Linked DNA regions of Homo sapiens: all the other regions are linked to region 3. Evidence: promoter capture Hi-C in 16 types of primary human blood cells and fetal thymus (Javierre and others, 2016). All regions are on one chromosome and are shown on one strand. The core of a region is centred on a gene start or on the middle of the fragment in contact, and the rest is flanking DNA. Distances in the headings are between cores, read along the strand shown. Region 1 has its middle 13 kb from the start of TRAF1. Region 2 overlaps C5 (complement C5). Region 3 holds the start of MEGF9 (multiple EGF like domains 9). Region 4 overlaps PHF19 (PHD finger protein 19). Region 5 overlaps PHF19 (PHD finger protein 19).

Region 1 (2,980 bases), core at 13-2,512, 230 kb before region 3:
CTCAGAGTAGGACCTGATTTGGAAATAAGTTTGTTGCATGTGTAATTAGCTAAGGTAAGATGAAGTCACACTGGAATAGGGTGGCTCTTAATCTAAAATGACAGGTGTCCTTATGAGAAGAGGGAAATGTAGACACAGGGATACGCAGAGAAAACCTCACGTGAAGATGCAGACACTGGGAGAGGACGGTCGCATGCAGACAGAGGTAGAAATTGGAGTAATGCATGTACAAACCAAGGAAGGCAAAGAACCACTGCTGTCACCTGAAGCCAGGAGAGAGGCACGGGACGGGTCCGCCCTCAGAGCCGGCCAGAAGAAACCAACCCTGCCGAAACTGCTTTCAGACTTCTAACCTCCAGCCCCGTGTGAGAATACATCTCTGTTGTTTCAAGCCACCCAGTTTGTGGCACTTTGTTACCCAGTGCTCACAAGCAAATACAGAAGAGAAGAAGGATTTCTGTCAGGGCTTTGTTATGTTTAAGAAGCCTTTTAGACATTCTTGTGGAGATATCAAGTAGGAATTAGCCTAGAATTACTATGAATCTAGAATTATGGTATATAAAGCAATACCACTGTAATTTATTGAAGTACTTTGTGTGATATAAAAAACCTGACATATAAATTAATAGTTCGAAAGGGGGAAATTGTAATTATTACTCATAATTACATGTAAATGACAGAATGCATATTCCATGAAATATTATGCAGCCTCTAAAAAGAATCATTTTAAAGACTAGGTAGGAGCATGAAAAATGCTTATGATCATCACAAAGGCAGTGATTGCCACTTTGTAATAACTGCCTACGAATGGGAAGCAGATGTCAAACTTTATGGATTCAAATCATAGCTTCAGCTCTTCTGAGTGCCCTGAGATACACAGCATGTCAGTATCCTGTGCATTATGTGTGTTCCCTGTATTTGCAGCACCAGGGTAAATGAACACAAGGCTGAATTGCAAAGTGCTGAGATGATAAAGTAAAGAAGTAATCGGAGTAGACATAGAATTAAGCAAGGATAACTTCCTGGAAGCACATGGCCTGGGACAGGAAGCTTATCATGGGCCAGACATAGTGCCAGCATCAAGGGTACACTCAGGACAAGCCCCTGTAAGTCCTTCTCTGGAAACACATCTGTGCTGGAGCTCCTGCCACCCACAGCCTTCTCATTGATTTCTTATCATGGCCTTCTATCCCACTGTGAGCTCCTGGCGGACAGGGGCTGTATCTTGTTCTTCTCTGTATCCTAAGCACAAGACCTGACACTTGGTAGGTATAAATTAATGACAATTAATAGAACATCAGAACCATAATTTTACTGTCTTTGTTTACAAGAACTTGCAACAAAGGCACGTTAATACTGAGTCCCTCAACCTGTGAACATGAGAATACCGAGCAATTAAGGGTTTAAAGCCTGAAGCACAGCTGATCTTTCAGGTAATGGTTAAGTGCCTTTATCTGAGGTAAGCCCAAGCTTTTAGTTGCTTTGGAAGATGTGATAGAGGCAAACAACACCAATTAGAAAAATATAATGGAAGGAGAGATCCCATTTTACAAAAGCAAATATAATTGCTAAATTAAGTAAGTAGGACTCCCTGTGCATACTCATAAGTCAACTTTGTTTTGCCTTCCAGCTCCCTATAAAGATTTATTCAAAGGGAAGGGAGAGATATCCTTTCTCTATCCTTTAAGGAAAACTCAAGCATCTTATGACTGTTGTGATCACTCTTAGGAACTAAAAAGTCCTATGATCACTTCAGTCACCAAACAACTCTATTCATAAATTTGATGTTCAGTCCCATACAAAAGCAAAATTCTCAACTTGATTTAAAATACAATCTTCTCTCCCAAACAGGGCTTGCTGCAGGTTTGGGACCCCTATAGCTGGGAATAGTGTCACGGGCAGCTGCTTCTTTCCCTGGAGTTTCCTTCTCAGCTTACTAAGGCTGTTTAGTGTGGCTGCTTCTTTCTTTAAGATTGTAATAAATTTAAAATGCGTAACATAAGATTTACCATCTTAACTACTCCCAAGTGCACAGTTCAGTAGTGTTGAGTATATTCACATTGCTGTGCAAGCTGTGACTTCTGACCTCTCCAGCACTAGAGGGATTGGTAGGGAGGAAAGGTAGAAGAAAGGGGAGCAGAAGAGCTTACTTGACCAGTACTGCCATAAGATGGCTTTCAAGGGCTTTAAAGCAGACTCGGACTCTTTCATGGGCATGTCCATGGGCTTTTTAGACACTCCCCCAATCTCTCTCTCTCTTTTTATTTTTGAGAAGAAGTCTTGCTCTGTCACCCAGGCTAGAGTGCAATGGCATGATCTTGGCTCACTGCAACCTTCACCTCCCAGGTTCAAGTGATTCTTATGCCTCAGCATCCTGAGTAGCTGGGATTACAGGCGTGCACCACCATGCCAGGATAATTTTTGTATTTTTAGTAGAGATGGGGTTTCACCATGTTGGCCAGGCTGATCTTGAACTCCTGACCTCAAGTGATCCACCCGTTTTGGCCTCCCAAAGTGCTGGGATTACAAGTGTGAGCCACTGTGCTGGGCCACTCCCCCAGTCTCTAAAGACCTTTCACCATTCCACGTTCATTGCACCACACTGTATCCCATCGTTCACTCCTTCTGCCGCCGTAGGAATCCAGCAATGTGTTCAGTTTGTCACCCTCCCCCACTGGACAAAACTAAGAGGCCTTTCACATCAGCTTCCTTGTGCATGGCCTGCTTCTAGTCCATGGGAACAGCGTTCTTTGCCCACACCAACTTTAGGAATTGAGGCTGATCTGAGCAGAGCCACCTCTCCTTTGTCTTGTTTGTCTAAAATGGTGCCCATATCTCATTGTTAAGATTTCTTGGGTGGCTGGTATATGCTATCATGAGACAAAGCTCACCATGTTTCCCCTTCTCAAACTACCATTGACATTATTATGTGCATGCATACACACACACACACACACACACACACACACACACACACACT
Region 2 (2,916 bases), core at 238-2,737, 240 kb before region 3:
TTCTAATAGATTGAGAGATTGAATCAGACTGAGGGGATTGGGGAAGGCTTCTTGGAGGAAATAAGAACTATAATAGTTTGCCATGCTTCATTTCTCGTGTTTGACAAATTCTGGCTTCTACTGGACATAGCATTAATAGTATTAAGACTGAATTGTTTCATTGTTGTTTGTCTTTTGCCAGCTTATAAAGTTAGCATCACATCCATCACTGTAGAAAATGTTTTTGTCAAGTACAAGGCAACCCTTCTGGATATCTACAAAACTGGTGAGAATTCATTCGTTCATTCGTTCCTTCATTCAGCAACTATTTAGTACTGACTATGTGCCAGGCATTATATTAAACACAGAAGATACAACTCAAATAAGACAGAGCTCTTGCCTTTTTAAAGCTTATATTCTACTTGGGGAGAAACATTTTTTAAAGATGTTCGTATAAATATTTCTCATTGAATTCATTTTTCTAAAACTTCAGCAAAATGTTTTTTTCAATTGCGTAATTGTCCAATTTCTTTTTCTTTACAACTTTTATTTTAGGTTCAGGGGATACGTGTGCAAATTTGCTACATGGGTAAATTGCATGTTTTGGGGGTTTGGTATATAGATCATTTTGTCACCCAGGTAATAAGCATAGTACCCAATAGGTAATTTTTCAATCCTCACCCTCTACCCTCAAGTAGGCTCTGCTGTCTAGTGTTCCCTTCTTTGTGTCCATGTGTACTCACTGTTTAGTTCCCACTTATAAGTGAAAATATGTGATATTTGGTTTTCTGTTACTGTGTTAATTCACTTAGGATAGTGGCTTTATTTCTGGGTGCTGTAACCTGTTCCATTGGTCTACGTGTCTTTTTTTGTATCAGTAACATGTTGCTTTGGTTACTGTAGCCTTGTAATATAGTTTGAAATCAGGTAGTAGGAGGCATCTAGCTTTGTTCTTTTTGCTTAGAATTCCTTTGGCTATTCAAGTTCTTTCTTTGTTCCATATGAATATTAAAATGTTTTTTTCTAATTTTATGAAAAATGATAGGAATAGCATTAAATCTGTAAATTGCTTTGGACAGTATGGCCATTTTAACAATATTAATTCTTCCTATCCATGAGCGTGGAATGTTTTTCCATTTGTTTGTGTCATCTCTGATTTCTTTGAGCAGTGTTTTGTAATTCTCATTGTAGAGATCATTCACCTCCCTAGTTAGCTGTATTCCTAGGCATTTTTGTGTGTGTGTGGCTATTGTGAATGGGATTACATTTTTTTTTTTGAAATGACGTTTCACTCTGTCACCCAGGCTGGAGCGCAGTGGCACGATCTTGGCTCACTGCAAACTCTGTTTCCCAGGTTCAAGTGATTCTCCTGCCTCAGCCTCCTGAGTAGCTGGGATTACAGACATGCACCACCACGCCTGACTTATTTTTGTATCTTAGCGGAGATGGGGTCTTACATGTTGGCCAGGCTGGTCCTGAACTCCTAGGCTCAAGTGATCCACTCGCCTCAGCCTCCTGAAATGCTGGGATTACGTGTGTGAGCCACCGTGCCTGGCCTCATTTCGATTGATATAAATTTTGCAATAAGTAGGACCATAAAGCTAAATTGCAATAATATGTTTATACTAAATTTTTTTCTCTTTTGAAATTCTATCAAATATTTCAAGTCCTAAAATGCTTGATTTTTTTTCTTTTGAGACGGGGTCTCACTATGTTGTTCAGGCTGGTCTCAAACTCCTAGGCTCAAGGGATCCTCTCTCCTCAGCCTCCCAGCTTGATTATTACTAACCATACCCTAGAGTTTAAAATTCTAGTAATATTTTTCAATTTTGTATTTGCTTTATCAACACTTTGATAATTTTTTTTAAATTTTTGTTATTTTGAAAGTTTCATTGTATGAAACTTATTTGTGAAGTTATTTTATTTTTTTCTTCATTGATGGTCACAATTTTTTAATTTGCAGGCTAGTTGCCATTCTAATGAAATAAGTGTTTAGAACTTTGATGTTGCCACAGTCCAACTTTTGAGCAACATTTTCATCCAATGTTCATATTACAAGCAGTAATAAGCCATTCTCTTTTTACTGAAATAACAAAGTGCTTTTCATTCCAGAAATACAAATTATTTGTTTTATTTGATACTGATTCTTGCATAGTATCAAAAGACATTTTAGACTGTTCTGAATTTTTCATAGCATCGGATGGTTCCCAAGCTACAATTTTTTTATTAGTATCATTTCTTCTTTGTTCTCCTGTAGATCCAAAGATGCATTTTATGATATTTAAAAGGAAATGTTAAGAAACATTGGCATACTTCATCTCCTCATTCTGGGCCCATTTTTAACACATAAATTTTGAATTTTTATAAATATAAAAATACCACACACTACTTACAGAAGAATTGTGGCACAGTGACCATAAGCCATTTAGAATCAAGGGCAAACTGTAGTTTGAGGATAAGGATAAATTGGTATTTCTCCAAAGCACAGAGTGCTTAGAATAGGTAAGGATATAGAAGAATAAAAGTTTAGTTATTGTTGAAGCCCAGGGTAGTTGCCTGTTCTCTCTTCTGAATATACTTTAAATTTTCCATGATGAGAAGCTTAAAAAATAATAAGGCCCCACACAGCTACACTGCTTACTATGACAGGGGCTGAAATGGCAGATAGTACTGGTAATGTTGCTCAGATATTGACGTAATAGGAATCTACACCATCAGGGCAGCCTAAGAAATCAGCTTGAACTAATGGGTGTACACTGAAATTTATATCACTAATGAAAGTTTACCATTTACACAGTTTCTATTATACACTATTTGCCAATTGGTTCAGAAGTTTTTCAGGACTTAACAATTAAGATGACTCTGCCAGAACTTAATAGTTAAATATCAGCCCTGTATATATAGCGATAAATCAGACACAGTCCATGCCTTAAGAAG
Region 3 (2,946 bases), core at 283-2,782:
TAAACTCACACAGATACATACAACACTCATACACACAGACTCACAAACATGTTTATGCATTCATACACAGCCTCCCCCACCCACTACTCATGCAGGAAAATAAATGCATGCTTTAATTAACATACACGGGTTCACACATAAATCTCATCCTGCTGGTCTGGTTGAAGACCAATGACTAATGGGAAACCATGCACAAAGCCAAACATCACGTAGGGGAGGCCGGGATTGGGTTAGCAGTGGGGCTTGAATTAAGCCCCATCAGATGACAAACCCGCCCTGCCTGGCTTCCTCTGGAAGCTGCTGAGCCGAAGCAGCAGCGCCTGACCTAGCTCTGGATCCTGGGCGGATGATGCGAGGCTGCGTGCCCGAATTCCAGCTTGATTCAGGGTTTAGTGTCATCCAGGGTCAAGCTCGGCTATTAGCCCCACCCCAACCCCTGCAACCAGCCGGAGGCTCTGGGGGCACTGAAGGGCTGTGGCCTGGGGCTGCTTTCTAATCCTGGGCTTGCCCTGGCGCAAATGCTGAGAATAGTTAGCATTAATGAGGGTTACAACAGTGGGCCAGGCTCTGGGCTAAGCCCTTTACGTCCATGACTTAATTCTCACAACAGCTCTGTGAGGGGGGTGGGGGGTGAGGGGTGTCCTATCATCTCCATTTTAGTGGTGAAAAAACCGCGCTCAGGCCACAAAACCATTCAGCAAAAGACATCAAGTTGAGGTTCAACCCTGTCTGATCCTATTCTTCCCGGGGTTTAGGTAAGTGTGCTTGCGAGCCTGTCTCCTCCACGCAGGAAGCTTGCACCTTCTGCCCTCAGGGGTCTCCACCGCCCGGTCCCGCCCCCTTGTCCAGTCTGGCACAACACCTGGCCCACAGCAGGTTTCTGGTGAGGGCGTGGGTCTCGGTTCAGGGAGGCCCTCAGCAAGGGCCTCAGCTTCCCCATCTCTGAAATGGGAATGGCGGCAGAGACCTCGCAAGGCTGCGACCAGGCTCTCTGGAGCAGCAGAGGGCATGCCAAGCTCTACATCGTCGCTGCCGCTGCCCTCTCCCATCGCGGGGTTCCCGCGCGGTCCCCGCCCGAGCTGGGGTGCGGCGCTGGCGCCCCATTGTTCAGGAGGGCGGGGATGCTCCCGAGTGCTGATTCCACCCCCCGCTCGTGCTCGCAGCCCGGTGGAGCAGATGACTAGGCCCGGCGTCTGCCGCGCGGGGCGCATCCTTTGTCTGCTCCGCGGCGCCCGGTGCCCGAGGCCCGCGCCCCACTCTTTGGGCAGACAAAGCCGGGGCCGCCGCGAGCCCGGCGGGCTAGAGCTGGGCTCGCACCACCCTTCTCCCGCCTCACGGACCGCCCCCTCTCCTGGACGTCCTCTGATTGGCCTACGGGGCTACAAAGAGGCCGGGAAGCGGGCGGATCACGTGGGCGACTGTGGCTTCCCATTGGTTAGGCGCGGCTGCCAATCGAGGAGGGCGGGCGGTCCGCGCTCGGTCCGGTCGCTCCCTCCGCGCTGGGGCCCGCCCGCGGGGCCGGCCGCCTGTCAGAGGGAGGTGGCGATGGTGCGCCCGGTGGCGGTGGCGGCGGCGGTTGCGGAGGCTTCCTTGGTCGGATTGCAACGAGGAGAAGATGACTGACCAACCGACTGGCTGAATGAATGAATGGCGGAGCCGAGCGCGCCATGAGGAGCCTGCCGAGCCTGGGCGGCCTCGCCCTGTTGTGCTGCGCCGCCGCCGCCGCCGCCGCCGCCGTCGCCTCAGCCGCCTCGGCGGGGAATGTCACCGGTGGCGGCGGGGCCGCGGGGCAGGTGGACGCGTCGCCGGGCCCCGGGTTGCGGGGCGAGCCCAGCCACCCCTTCCCTAGGGCGACGGCTCCCACGGCCCAGGCCCCGAGGACCGGGCCCCCGCGCGCCACCGTCCACCGACCCCTGGCTGCGACTTCTCCAGCCCAGTCCCCGGAGACCACCCCTCTTTGGGCGACTGCTGGACCCTCTTCCACCACCTTTCAGGCGCCGCTCGGCCCCTCGCCGACCACCCCTCCGGCGGCGGAACGCACTTCGACCACCTCTCAGGCGCCGACCAGACCCGCGCCGACCACCCTTTCGACGACCACTGGCCCGGCGCCGACCACCCCTGTAGCGACCACCGTACCGGCGCCCACGACTCCCCGGACCCCGACCCCCGATCTCCCCAGCAGCAGCAACAGCAGCGTCCTCCCCACCCCACCTGCCACCGAGGCCCCCTCTTCGCCTCCTCCAGGTGAGTCCGGCGCTCCCTCTCGGGCAGGACCCGTCCTCACCTCAGCCCCGGCAATCTAGGGTTGGGCTCTTGCCTATAATTTATCGTTTGTTACCCCAAAGACACCCCAGGTTCCGGCTCCCGAGGGGGGATCCCAGGTCCAGCTAGTCTCCCTCCCGCCCCCGATCAATCTGGAAAGTCTTTTGTCCCCCGTGGGCTGTGCTCCCTCGGGAGGGGGTGGCTGCTGGGTGGAAGGCATCTCATCTTCTTCCCAACAGGGCTTTCTGGCCTTTTTCAGAGACCAGAATGGGCGCAAACTTTTGGGTTGGGTTCGCGCACCCAGCCTCTCTGCCTGGGTTATTTGGGGAAGTTTGAAAGCCCGCATAGTACCTCCTTCAACCACTGGGTCAAAAGCTGAGGGTAAGGAATTCCTCCCAAAGCTCCAGTTTCCCTGTTCATTTCTTCTTGTTTATGTAAATATCAGATGTGTGTGTATGACAGGTGGAAGAGAGGTAGTGAGAGGATTTTGTTTACAAACAGTAGTATGGACCACTTGAGGGCAAAAAATAAAAACAAAAAAGGCATTGTAATCCATGTTGTCCCTGCAAATAAGTGGATTCAGTAGGTCATTTGGGACAGGTGTGTATCTAGGCTGAGCACATTTACAAATTAGGTTAAATCTCTTCCTCGCACCATTTTTTTCTTCCACAATTATAAGGTCAA
Region 4 (2,973 bases), core at 269-2,768, 140 kb before region 3:
GCCCAGGTATTAAGGCTGAGAGTGAAGGCTGCCAATGTCAGCTTTGGAGGTCCCAGAAGTCTTCTGTTCTCTGGCCTCACCCCCTCAGTCGCCATAGAGCTGGGCCTGGCCTTGCTGGAATGGAGGCATCCTTCCAAACCTGGGGGACGGGGGTGGGGGGTGGTAGTGGTGGGAGGGAAACCATGTCTTGCTAAACCTGTTTCTGGTGCCTCCCATCCCCAGACCCACCAGACACCACACAGCAGACAATACACACCCACTCGCACAAGCTTCCATCCACATGTGTTGTACTTTCAGCTCTAGGCATGCAGACAACCCCACACGGCCACACCACCACATGCCCAAGTGTACACACACAGAGCCACACCGTCCCTCTGGGCCTGCTGGCTCCTCCCTTGGCTTTCCCTTGGCCCACTTCCAGGGCCCAGGTGCTGCAACTAAATGTGAAAGCTCAGTGGCCGCTCCTTCTTTCAGCCCATCAACCAGCATTGGTCCCATAGGGAAGCACAGGGGACTCACCCTCTTTCATATCCCTTGCCCTGCCCTGAAATGGACAATCACTTTTTGGGATAGGTTGAAATTTTTAAAGAGCCTGCATCATTTGGTTCCCTCAAAGGGAAGCCCTTGCCAGTGGGGGTTTGAAAGAGAATTTTTGGAACCAACATTCAAATTCTGCCTCATCTGGAGGGAAACCAAAATTGGGAGGGGGAAGAGGACCCCTGATGTTTTGCTGCTTCCAGAGATATTAGAAACTGACTCACTTGATTGGAAAATGGACAAAAGTGCCTTGACGTGGAGGGTGGGCACCAGATGGGGACCAGCCTTGCCAACTGCTGCTGTGGCCTCCAGCTTGGCTGGTTTTGCAGGCCGCCAGCAGGAAGGCGAAGGTGGTAGTACAGCAAGAGGCACTGGCGGGGCAGCAGGCCTGCAGGAGCTGTTTTTCCATTGCTAGGCCTGACCCCTCTCTACCTGTGAGCGTTCAGGGGGTCCCTGAGATAGTTTAGATGCCCCCCCATCTTAGACCTCAGCTCCCACAGTGCCTTTTAAGGGGGACCTCACCTCCTGTGCACAGCCCACCCACTTTCCTCTGCTTCCCTGGCACAGCCCAGGCATAGACGAGCTGGCGTTGGACCCAGTTCTTCCCCCTTTTCAGCCCCACAGCTGCTGCCACAGGGGCCAACTAGGGCCAGGTGGAAGGGGAGCTGAGAAGCCAACCCCTAGCCCAGGGGTGCTGTGGGAACTGGGATCCAATTTGTAGCTTCCTGCCTGGCTTCAGAGAGCCCAGCAACCTTCTAGGCCTGCTTTCCAGACTTCTGAGATAGCCTGGGATGAGCAATCCTGTTATAGTACATCTGGACCTTCCCTACCTGGGCTCTGGGGAGGCTGTGGGCCTGGAGAGGGAAAAGGAGGGAGGGGGTGTCTGCACCACCTGGGAAGATAGCACAAGGCCTAATGAGGTCACCCTGACTCCCCACCCCAGCATTTCATTCATACCAGATAATAGCTGCATTACTGCCAACTGACCTTATAACCCTCTGCACCTTCAAAAAGATTCATGGTTTTTAATTGCTGCTTTTAATAACATTTGTTAAAGTTATAATTAATGTGTCTGATTTATGATTTAAAACCTCCCTTTGAACAATCACTTGTCTTCCCTATAGTGAATTAGCTGCTGGGTGGCAGAAGGAATTGGCTCTGGCTTTTGCACTTGGTTTACTGGAGGCTGAGGAGGAATGGCAGGACCCTGTCCTCTGGCCACCTTGCCACTCCTACCACTGCCAGCAACATTCTCACCCTTACTGCCAGAGAGAATATGGAATCTTTTGTGAGTACCCGACCTTTGGGGGCAAAAAACATTAGTTGAGTGCCACTGAGAGGTAAAAGATGGAAAATGAACTTAGAAATTGACACTATTATAATACTTAGATCCGGGCATCGTAAAACTTTATCAGTACATCATCACACAATTCTAGAAATATGAAATGAGTTCTAGACCTGACTCTGCTAGTTCTAACCTGTGCCACTTTAGTCAGATTCCTTTCCTTCAGTTTTATCACCCTTCAAATGGCAGTGATAATCCCAGCACATCTGCTCCCCATGTGTTGGGAGAGACTTTGCTGTGTGTGACTGATTATTACTTCAAAATAAACCTCTAAATTTAGGGCAGTTTGGAGAGGAAAAAAACAGGAGATGTAAAGGGGTAGGAAAAAGGTCATCTATAGAGAGGTAAAGGCCATGGATTCCACTGAATTCTACAGTTTGAGGGGTAAAGTGTAACCTGTAATCCCGAATGAAGGACTCAGTGGTGTTAATATCTGCCCTTAAACGTCTTCATTCACTATGGCTCCCACTTCTTTCTACCACTCCATCAGCTTCAACCTTTTATCTGTCCTCAGAATAAAACCACAATGGGACTTGGGGGTGGTGGTGGTTATTCTCTGGGCTATAATTAATGGAATGGAATGAAAAGTGGCACCAGGTGTCAAAAGACCTGGGTTCTAGTGCAAGGTCTGCAATAAGCAGCTATATGGACCCTCCTAAGATCAGTGGGCCTCCCAGGCTAGAGAGTGCCTGCTTTTCTGTAGTCTAGTGTTTCCAAATTCACAACAAACATTTACCTTCGGAAATTAGGGACAAAGAAGTAGAATTCTCAGAAATCCCCCAAATTATAAGTTATTCTTCAAATACTTCATTCTTTATACTGTTTTCCTCATTATTATAGGTATCTGGAAAAACTTTGTTTGCTAAGTAGACATATTAAGCTTATTTTTACTTACAAAGAACTGTAGCGTACAGAGAATATTTAAAAGACAGGAAGATGCCAGGGAACATATATTGGATAGTGTTCAAATAAATATAACATTTGAATAGCCTAGAGCAAGGTAAACAGAATATAGAATCAATCGTGTCCAGACTGTTAACTTATTTTGCTTCCAAAGTTTATTTCTCGGAACACCATAAGATTTGTATAAA
Region 5 (2,921 bases), core at 157-2,656, 160 kb before region 3:
CGCACCACACAGAAACAGGCACTGGACTCTCTCCCTGTGAACAGATAGTCACAACACCAGGTGCCCAGCGCCATGGCCACAAGGAGGAGACCCGAGTAGGCCCGCGGGGAAAGAGAGAGGCTGTGTGTGGCTGTAGTGGAGAGCATGTGGAGGGACTTGGAGCCAGGTGAGCCCAGCAGAAAGGAGGGGGCGTTAGGGACGGCTTTGAGCACCAGTGAGGGCAGTGGGGAGCCCCAGAAAGTTTCTGGAAGGAAATTGGTGGCCCTGCGGAAGAGTCTGGTGGAGAGGCAGGAATGCAGGAACGGCCTGTTTAGCACTGGGTGCTGGTAGTACCGTTCCCCACCCTAGGTGCCTAGTGGAGGTAAGCACAAGGCCCAGGAAACTGTTATTGGGTGAATGAATGAATGAATGAATGGCCCAAGCAAAAGATGAGGCCTGAACTGAGACCAGGGCAGGAGGATGGAAGCTAGAGCTGGAAAGCCAGAAATCATGGCACTTAAAATGGGCCGGCTGTGGCAACTAATTGCTTGGAGGAGTTTGAGATGCATGAAGGCAGTACCACAGGCAGGGAGAGAGAAATCGATGGGTGAACTGCACGTTGAATAGGATGGTGAGAGACAGGCGTGGAGAGGCTGGCATGGGGATGGATGACTTCACTGCTTGGAGCAAATGTGTATCTGGGTGAAAGCATAAGTGGGTTTAAATGTCCCAGAATTGGTTTCCATTAAATCATCTCATAATTGAGAACAGAAGGGGGGATTACAAAAGACAGATGACCCAGTCTACACTAGCTACAAGCCACCCAGTTTTCCTTTCTAGGTGAATTTTCTCTGGACAGATCTCAGGTTAGGGATGGTTGCAGGGGTTGGGGGTAAAAACAAAACCCAACTGCTTGCCTGGAGAAGATCCTCCATCCAGAGCACATGGACTGTGTTTGCTTAAGGAATAAAACCTCAGCCTCCTGAGACAGGGAGTGGTTCAGGCCCGCTGGGTAGGGGACTTTGTTCTGTGTGGGTTGAGAGATCCATTCTCTTTAAAAGGTAGTGTGGTATGGGCCATGGCTCTGCCTTTGGCCCATCAGCCTCTTCTCCTTGCCACACCTGTTTCCCTATCTGTAAGATGTGAATAATAATAATGTCTCCCTCATAGGATGGTCACGAGGAATCAGTGAGATAATAACCAAGTCTGGCTTATAGCACAGGGTACAGAAATGGTGGTTTCCTTCCTTCCCCTGATGGGCTTTCTGAAGCAGGGAAGCAAGAAGCAAAAACCCTGTTCTTTCTCTCCCAGTGTCAGGGGAAGCTGATGGAGAATCGAGCTCTGGATCCAGGGACTCGGGACTCCTATGGTGCCACCAGCCACCTCCCCAACAAGGGGGCCCTGGCGAAGGTCAAGAACAACTTCAAAGACTTGATGTCCAAACTGACGGAGGGCCAGTATGTGCTGTGCCGGTGGACAGATGGCCTGTACTACCTCGGGAAGATCAAGAGGGTAAACCCATCCTCTCTGGCCCCTGTTCTCAGACTCAGAATCTCTCTGCTCATGTTCCAGCCTGGCTGTCAGACCAGGGGGCAGGGGGATTGCTGGAGAATTCCCTTCTTGTCCCTCATGCCCAAAGCTGGTGGTGGGAGGGGCCAGAGCCTGGTCTTGCAGGCACCATCCCTAGGGTCAACATCATCCAACTAGTTCTTTAGAAAAGTGCTCTGAGAGCCTACAAAACAAAAAAGTCAGGTTTGAGAGGATCACAGAGGAGCATCTGACTTGTGCTTCTGTCCTCAACATTCTGACCAAGTTGCCATCCATCGGTCCCTGGCTGTACGACTCCAGGTGACTAGGAGTACACCCTGTCCAGGAACTGCCATCCTTCTTCCCCTTCTAGCCCTGCTTTCTGGAACATACGGAGACAAAAATGGGGGAGGAAGACTATGTTCCAGGTTGGCTTTTCCCCAGCCCTTTCTCACTTGCTCCTTCCTATCTGTACCCCAGGTCAGCAGCTCTAAGCAAAGCTGCCTCGTGACTTTCGAAGATAATTCCAAATACTGGGTCCTATGGAAGGACATACAGCATGGTGAGTTTTCCTAACATTTCGGGTAGCCCCCAACCTCCCCAGGTCTTCTCTCCTCTGCTGCCTTCATTTCTTCCTTCTGTCCTTCCATCTCTTACTCCTGGCATCTGCCCTTGACCATGAACCCCAAGCCCACCTGTGATGATGATCAAATCTGGTTGTATATTGACTTAGGAAGGTACTTAGGACATGAGTCATCCCCTTGAGAATTCATACCCCAGGAGGGAGGATGGGCAGGTGGGGAAGGTAGCTTAGGGAGGTGCTGGGAGGGCCAGGACTGGGCCTCAGGCCTGCGTTTGCTTCCTGGCTGCACTACAGCTGCAGCTGCTCAAAGCTCTGCGTCAGTCTGGGCTAGAAAAGGGGGCGTGCCCAGGTATTCAGAATTGTCAGCTCTAGATGCAAGCACAGTGTCCCTGATTTAACATATGAATAAAACTAATGGAAGCAGCCTTCTCCACGGGGCAAGGAGTTGGGAGGAATGGGAGAAAAACCAATAAAGCAGAGGTGAGCCAGGCAGGGTGAAGATGGACATGCCTGGATGGAGCTAGACCAGCTTTTAGGGCTGAAATGAATCTGGGTTGGGTATCATCCCTGCCTTCAGAAAGCTGACATCTCTCCCTTGCAGAGATGGCAAGTCAGGGCCATCTTTGCCACCATTCTCCCTTCCCATACACACAACAGACATCAGTAGCCATTGACAACACATGTACTTTCAACTTGGAGCCCCAAGCAGCTACTGCCTGTCAATCAGAGTTGGCATAAGAGGAGAAACCTGTTTGCCATTTATACTCTAACAGGAGAAGAGACATGGCCCCTAGCAGGGTAAGAAGCAGATTTTAGGGTCAGGTAGACCTTG

The links. Contacts are between HindIII fragments. The CHiCAGO score rates a contact against its expected background, and 5 or more counts as called.
Region 1: a contact is called between a fragment that was not itself captured here and the fragment with the promoter of MEGF9 in region 3, in 4 of 17 cell types (monocytes, non-activated CD4 T cells, neutrophils and 1 more). The highest score is 8.4, in monocytes.
Region 2: a fragment that was not itself captured here is called in contact with the fragment with the promoter of MEGF9 in region 3 in 7 of 17 cell types (monocytes, activated CD4 T cells, naive CD8 T cells and 4 more); the score reaches 8.0 in monocytes.
Region 4: a fragment that was not itself captured here is called in contact with the fragment with the promoter of MEGF9 in region 3 in 1 of 17 cell types (monocytes); the score reaches 5.4 in monocytes.
Region 5: a contact is called between a fragment that was not itself captured here and the fragment with the promoter of MEGF9 in region 3, in 1 of 17 cell types (monocytes). The highest score is 7.0, in monocytes.

What each region holds. Positions count from the first base shown.
Region 1 is chr9:120,938,121-120,941,100 of GRCh38, reverse strand. No RefSeq gene overlaps it. Among named protein-coding and RNA genes, the nearest start is that of TRAF1, 13 kb to the right of the region's middle. The HindIII fragment of the contact is 420 bases long and covers 1,053-1,472 here.
Region 2 is chr9:120,954,634-120,957,549 of GRCh38, reverse strand. It overlaps C5 (complement C5), which reads left to right. Exons shown (of 41, transcript NM_001735.3): 39 at 182-265. Among named protein-coding and RNA genes, the nearest start is that of C5-OT1, 3.3 kb to the right of the region's middle. The HindIII fragment of the contact is 2,191 bases long and covers 392-2,582 here.
Region 3 is chr9:120,713,056-120,716,001 of GRCh38, reverse strand. MEGF9 (multiple EGF like domains 9) reads left to right here and starts at 1,532. Exons shown (of 6, transcript NM_001080497.3): 1 at 1,532-2,244. The coding sequence starts at 1,644. RefSeq lists a silencer at 995-1,844. The HindIII fragment of the contact is 2,825 bases long and covers 797-2,946 here.
Region 4 is chr9:120,854,323-120,857,295 of GRCh38, reverse strand. PHF19 (PHD finger protein 19) reads left to right here. Exons shown (of 15, transcript NM_015651.3): 15 at 1-1,645. It also overlaps the pseudogene CUTALP. Among named protein-coding and RNA genes, the nearest start is that of PSMD5, 13 kb to the right of the region's middle. RefSeq lists enhancers at 560-1,059, 1,060-1,561. The HindIII fragment of the contact is 2,493 bases long and covers 272-2,764 here.
Region 5 is chr9:120,873,126-120,876,046 of GRCh38, reverse strand. PHF19 (PHD finger protein 19) reads left to right here. Exons shown (of 15, transcript NM_015651.3): 2 at 1,291-1,491; 3 at 1,987-2,068. The coding sequence starts at 1,306. Among named protein-coding and RNA genes, the nearest start is that of PHF19, 2.6 kb to the left of the region's middle. RefSeq lists enhancers at 1-22, 1,833-2,458, 2,459-2,921. The HindIII fragment of the contact is 4,096 bases long and covers 1-2,921 here.